Linked DNA regions of Homo sapiens: region 2 is linked to region 1. The links are contacts of gene promoters, found by promoter capture Hi-C in blood cells and fetal thymus (Javierre and others, 2016). All regions are on one chromosome and are shown on one strand. Each heading gives the region's core, a stretch centred on a gene start or on the middle of the fragment in contact. The rest is flanking DNA. Distances are from core to core; before and after follow the strand shown. Region 1 holds the start of ERGIC2 (ERGIC and golgi 2). Region 2 has its middle 2.8 kb from the start of PYROXD1.

The links. The method cuts DNA at HindIII sites, captures the fragments that hold promoters and counts their contacts. A CHiCAGO score of 5 or more calls a contact.
Region 2: a fragment that was not itself captured here is called in contact with the fragment with the promoter of ERGIC2 in region 1 in 1 of 17 cell types (total B cells); the score reaches 8.2 in total B cells.

The regions. Positions count from the first base shown.
Region 1 is chr12:29,379,265-29,382,745 of GRCh38, forward strand. It overlaps ERGIC2 (ERGIC and golgi 2), which reads right to left and starts at 1,908. Exons shown (of 14, transcript NM_016570.3): 1 at 1,851-1,908. RefSeq lists an enhancer at 1,471-1,640. The HindIII fragment of the contact is 7,270 bases long and covers 1-3,481 here.
Region 2 is chr12:21,433,288-21,436,411 of GRCh38, forward strand. No RefSeq gene overlaps it. Among named protein-coding and RNA genes, the nearest start is that of PYROXD1, 2.8 kb to the right of the region's middle. The HindIII fragment of the contact is 1,540 bases long and covers 648-2,187 here.

The DNA of each region.
Region 1 (3,481 bases), core at 658-3,157:
AATGAATGTTCTCAAAAGCAAAGAGTATGGGGGTTAATAAGGCACTCAGAGGGTAGATCTGAGCCACACTACAACGTGACTATATAGAGCAATAGAAAGGAAGAACTTATGCTTTAGTCATTAAAAGAGGATAATAATTTAAGAAAACAAGCAACTGGATAATGGGAGTTTAAGGACACATTAACCACACCAATCAGAGTGTTTAATCAATCTGGAGTTCAGAAAGATATTATTTTAAACAATATCTTCTTCAGTCTACATTTTGACTAAGTAACAAGGCAACATTTGTAACTACAGATGTTAGAAAATGAAAATAAAAAATAACAAGAGCTAACATGCATTGAGTGTTTACTGTGTGCCAGGTATTGTTCTAAATGCTTTGTATGTTTCAACACATTCAATCCTCACAACCTTCCTATGAGTTAAGTATCATTATTTCATTTGGCCGATGAAGGAACTAAGGCACAGAGAGGTTAAATAATTTGACCACTATGACATTAAGAGGCAGAATTACAATAAATATTGGGAAACTATTAAATAGGATTTTTAGCAGGCACTGACTGCCTAAAAGTAACTTCTGGTAAAGAAAAAAAAAATAGCCATTTCTTTCACTTAAATCATCAATCCCCAAAGAAAGAAAATGTGTGGGTGGTTGTTGTTGTTTCCCTAACTCTCGTTGTTCCAGACTAGGCCTGATTTCCTTTGAGAGATCTTTCAAACTTGATATATTTTTATGATTTGTACCAGGAAGCCATTATAACACGCAACTGTATACTAAAGTTCACCATCATTTAAAAAAAAAAAAAAAATCCTCCTCTCTCTATCCATCCCTGCACCGCCAACCCCCACCCTCCCAAAAAATCAGAATTTTTTTCCTCATGTTTTCCACTAGAACTGGCATAATTACAACAACTTAAAGATATCAACAAACAAATTAGGTAAATAACCATGTCTTTTTTCAGTGAACAAGCCAGGCTCATTCTTTATAATTGCTGTATACTGGAGTCCAATGTATCAGGCTAGGCAATTAACTGAAATACTGAATTACAACTTCAAATGAATAAATCCTGTTTTTAACTGTAACTTTCATTGCTTCTGAAAACCAGTCTGGCAACATTTTAACAGCTATTATGCCACTTTGTCTTTAAGTCTCGGGGGCACTAAAATATAAAAGTTATTTAAACGTGTTTTCTCAAACAATGACCTGTCAACTCTATATACTACAGATAAACAAGGCTATTCTCCACCACGAGTTGACACGTTGCCTTCGGAAGGTTTCCTGCGCCGAGGAAAAGTAGTGACAGTCGAACCTGTCTCTCAGCATCTCGCCCTCCCCCGCCCCCTTCTCATTTTCCGAAGCACTGTGCGAAACTCCTTCCGGGCAAGGCCAAGACTCTTAAAGAGACAGAGGGCAACGTGCTGCCACGAATGTGGCATTTGTCTGAATGGGGGTAGGGAGTCTGACATCCGGGAGGACTGGGACTCGACCGATTGGGATCCTACTCGCCTGCGGACTGGAGAAACCACCTGGGAACCGGGCACTGTGACAAGCAAAGGGTCAGAATCAGGTGCGATCGAGGAAGCACCTGAACTCCTTCGAGTTGCAGGATAGCACACAAGCACCCGGACCTGGCAAAGGGAAGCTCCCAGTAGCATCGTTGCCTAGGGTCCTGCCAGTAACGCCCCCGTGGGAGGTGGAGCGGCTTCTCCGTCCGACCGGCTCTCTAGAGATCAATGAAGACAGGAAGCCAAGCCCATGACAGGCTCCCAGTTCCCTCAATTGCATTTACGCCCTAAACAGCCCTGGAACAACCGAGGGAACAGCACCCAGCGGTGTTTCAGTATTTTACCTTGTGTTATGGTCCCAGCCTACCGCCATGTTTCACAGAAGCCCGGGTCGCCGGGGCTCCCGCGTACCCGGAAATATCGCGAGAACAAAAGCGACTATCACAGCTGAAAACGTCAGAAAAGAGACAATGTACAGATCTCGCGATATTCCCTTTGCTTACGACGTGCTTAGGGAATGAAGAGGCGTGGTTAAGATAAAAGAGGCGTGCCTACAGGGAAATGAGGTTGCAACTTGTTTTAGGTGTAATCGCGCCGCCAGTCCGGTTCTGTTTCTATGGGAAGGGAGGGGTTACTTTCCGACTAACACTGAGACTGCAGAACGAATCTCAGCTCCTCACACCGTATTTCATTACTAATAAGAGCCTTGGGCGCAGAAATTATCCCTAACAACCCTAATGCATATCACCTGTGCAATTGTTTTGTTTCCCTCTTTCAGTTTTTGTGTCGTTTTCCCCTGACAAGAACATTTGAGCTTCCTTTTCCGCCATAGGTAACGCTTTTTATTATTTGATCAGCGTTTTTATTGTCTTCCAGGTTTTAATATCATAAGAAAGCACATATGTCTTCCTCATCTCCCTTCGCCAACACCAACTATGCCTTCAAATATTTGTTAAGAAAGAAAATTAATACCTCATCTTTTTCTACCACTTCATAGAACAGGAGTTAATAGACGGAACTTCGGAAAGAAAAGTTAAATGTGAACTCCTGGAGAGTAAACCCATTCCAGGTTCCTTTTCACCCATCTGTTACCAGATTTTATAATCAAACATTGAGATTTAAATTTTCTGATTCATTGACCTAGAAGTCTAACAACGGCATAATTATGACAACTGCTTATAATTACTGTTTAAAGGCTTTAACTGCTTTTTTAAAAAATCTGCGTATCCTCACAACACTCTTAGAAGATAATACCAGTATTTACCTGTTTTATAAATACGGAATTTGAGTCAAGGGGTAGTGAAGTGATTTACCCAAATTCAGACCGCTGGGAGAGTCAGGGAAATCTTGATCACAATACTAAACTGTGCCTCAAAGGAAAAAAATCACATTGTTTTATGTAGTGAATTAACCTTTACTGAAATACTAAATTTCACTAAATTGAATATCCCCCAAAATAAGGACTGATGAAAAGTTTCCAATGAATCAATTTTATTTTCAGACTTTCAGAGTTAGTCTAATTAAATCAATTTAAAGTTCTCACTTTCTTGACATGCTTAAGAAGTATAGTGTAGTGGGTGAAATCATAGACACTGGAGACAGGACTTCCTGGGTTAGAATTCCAGATCAGCAACTTACTAGCATGTAACCTTGACCACATTATTTCATCTCTTTGTGTCTCCATTTGCTCATCTGTAAAATGGGCATGATAATATCTCAGAGTTGTTACGAGGATTAAGTAAATTAATATACATCTAAAATGCCTTTTTTTAATCTTTGCCGTAAAGGCATCAGCAACTCTTCCTTCTTTGTGAATATGGGCTCTTGCTTGGATGGAGGCTGGCTGTTGTTCACTTAGTTACATCTGATCCCTCATCTCCTGGATAACCTACTTTCAGGGTAACAACTATCCCATGAGAGTTGGATTTCCCAGTGTAGCAAAACTGACTAATTTGATCCTTCTTATTTAGAAAAC
Region 2 (3,124 bases), core at 168-2,667, 7.9 Mb before region 1:
TAACTCTAAAAAATCAACAATAAAATAAATCAAACTCTGGTTTGTATAATCTGCCATTTTCCATGGTGTAAATACTCCTATTACGGCCAATTTCAAGATCAACATGACGTCGCTGAATGAGGCAGTAGGAAGAAATGTATAGTAGCCCACCATTATATTTTTACCTGTAGATACAATAGATGTAAATAACCTCAAGAGTAGAGATAATAGCAAAAGAGTTAGGAAATAAGAAGTTTTGAATATTTATTACCTTTGTCTTAATATAACTTATTTGATTATGTTTATACAATTTAGTGTTTAACAATAGCTGTGTTAACAATCAGCTCACACAAATCCTAAAATTTTAACAATCAGCTCTCACAGATTCACAGTTGTACCACACCACTGATTCATAGATATAGGAAGACAGCCTGCGGTATGGCAAGAATGACACCACGGCCATGATGACTGATGTTGGATTCCTGCATACTAAGGTGTTCTGCAGCAAGGTCCTTAAACAATGCCCATAGCATAGATAACCCTTCAAAAGAAACAAAGCTTGTAACTTAGATAATTCTCTCATTAAGATTCTTATCTAGACTCCCCAGTGTTCATGAGTTTTGCAAGAAAGTCTGAGACATGATCAGCTGTACATCTTTTATCCTAAAAGCTTACATAATTTCTGGAGGGCAGGTGTGGGGATGCACTGTAACAGAATCATCATTTCTGTGTGTAAGTCCCTATTAAATACCTCTTTCTGAGAAACTGGATTTGTCAGTTTTTCTTTGGCCTCTCAGCTCTCTCAGCCTTTGGGGGTAGGTTTGCATATATATGCTCATACAGGAACAACAGTGAGGCTCTTTCCTCTCCTTACTCCTTACCCACCCTCCAATCTTAAAGCCCCTGAAAACATCAGCTCTTAGTTAGGAGAAGAGCTGGAGCAAAAAAGCAACAAGAAATCAATTTGCGTTGCCTGTAGTTAGGTGAGGCTTTAATTGGATGCGTGTCTGGAGTTTTGATAATAGGTAGTACCAGACTTTTTATTACCTGAGAATGATCAGATAAGCTAAATTAATAAGAATTTAGAGGAGAAAAATACATTCACAGGAAAAGCGTTGAGAAATAAAAATGTTTGCTTTAATTTCTTCCCTATAAAGTCCAGCTTGTTCAGTAAATCAGTTATATGAACTAACAAAACAAAGAAGAGGTTTCGAGTGCAAGATGAATCCAGGCTGTACTTACAGCGAATTGGCAAAAACCAAGATAAAAATGAGAAGATATCCAAGATGTTTCAGAAATTTCAGGCTTGAAGATTCAGAGTAGATTGCATGAGAGATAGACATTTGGGAGTTAAAAGCATAATAGGCTTGTTAAGGTTATGATCATAGATAAAATCCTTTAGACAGAGAAACATAGTCTATTCAACAGGGCACAGGCAGGCAACTTAACCATTAATCCTACTAAGAGGCACGCACTATGCTAGGAAGTTTAAATATGTTGCCTCACACATGCATCAAAACAACTCTACAAAGTAGATCTTATACCCGTCTTGCCAATGAGGAAACTAGGGTTCAGATGAGGTAAATAACTCACTGAATGGTCACACAACAAAGAAATGCTGGTGCCACATTTGAACCTAGGTCATCTGACTCAAAAGCTATTAATCACCAACTATGAAATGTCATTATTCATTCCCAATTTTTGCAGTTGAAAATTAACCTCAATACTCCTATTCTAGGCATTTCTGATATCAACTTGAAGAAGAATGGAAGACTAGATTTTGATGGTAGTTTGAAAGTTGGGGATGGCCTTCAAGAGATTAGGTGGGTATGGGAATCAGATGTAACAACATTATGGAGAGAAATAGAAGAAGATAGCTTTATCTCCTTCAGTTTTTCCACATGAATCTTGAACTCCCCAACCACTTTTCTTTCTTTCTTCCCTTTTACCATCTCCTGTATTTCCCATGCTCATTCCTGCTGCTAAGCCTTTGGTTCTTGGGATATTTCCCACATGACTTGCCACATCTTCTTCTGAACCTATCCAAATGCTATGGGCCTTTGAGATTCAATATAAATTCCACTTCTTCTCTGAACCTTTCTTTGCCAAGTCCTGCTTTTCTTTTCCACCCATAAACATACACCATAATATTTAGCAATACACTGGTATTTCTTTGACTCCTCAGAAACAGTCACCAGGTCACTCCTAAGCTTGCTGACCAGAGCTAAAGGGGAGCTGAAGTTCTGTCTTTTCTGCTTCTCTGCTGCTTCCTGGCATTGGGCCTCCCTTATTTCTAGGTGCCCAGTTTTCTTTGCAGTTGCCCTTTCTCCTAACCTGTACCTATTGCTGCCCTCCCTGTGGATAACATGTTTCAAGTTACCTACATCTTACTTTTAACCCACTTTACATCCAGTATATGTATCTAATTTAATCAACATTAAGGTGAGATGCACTGAAAGTTCTTTAACCCTTAGACATTTCTAAAAGTTGGATATTCATGCCAGTGTGGCAGGCAGCTAGGTCTTATCCCTACATCACCTTTGACAAAAAAGCCAGCCTTCACAAGGGGAAGAAAAAAGGAGAGTGTGGAGTCATTACCCCTTTACATTTGAGGAGCCTCCTACTACTTTGCTTCCCCTCCCACAGACGATGATCTCCTTCCGTTTCCCCTGGGAGCTTAAATTCCACTCCATTCTTCCTTCCGACTTCCATAAAGAGGAAACCCCTGTCACAATATACAAGAGGATCCTGACCCTGGACAATGAATCTAAAAATCTTTAGAAGGACTTCAGGGGAGTTTCATGCTCCACCAACTTCCTATTTCGTTGAGCACATTTTTGTTGAATACATACTCCCTACTAAACATTGGAGATACAAAGGGAGACAAAAATAATCCCTGAGATTATGTAAGCAGTTTATGGTGGTGGTGGGGTCAGGCAGTAAGAATTTACAATAAAGTGGGATAAGTCTAAATTTAGAGGATGACAAAGTGCTATAAGAACACACGGAGAGGACACCTAGCTGTCTTGAGGATGTTAGATAAAGTATCTTAAAGGGGAAGCAATGGCTTGATGAAACCAAAGGTTGATGAGTTAGCCAGGGAAAAGTAGTTGGGAAAAAGATATGTGCAAATGCTCAGAAAGAA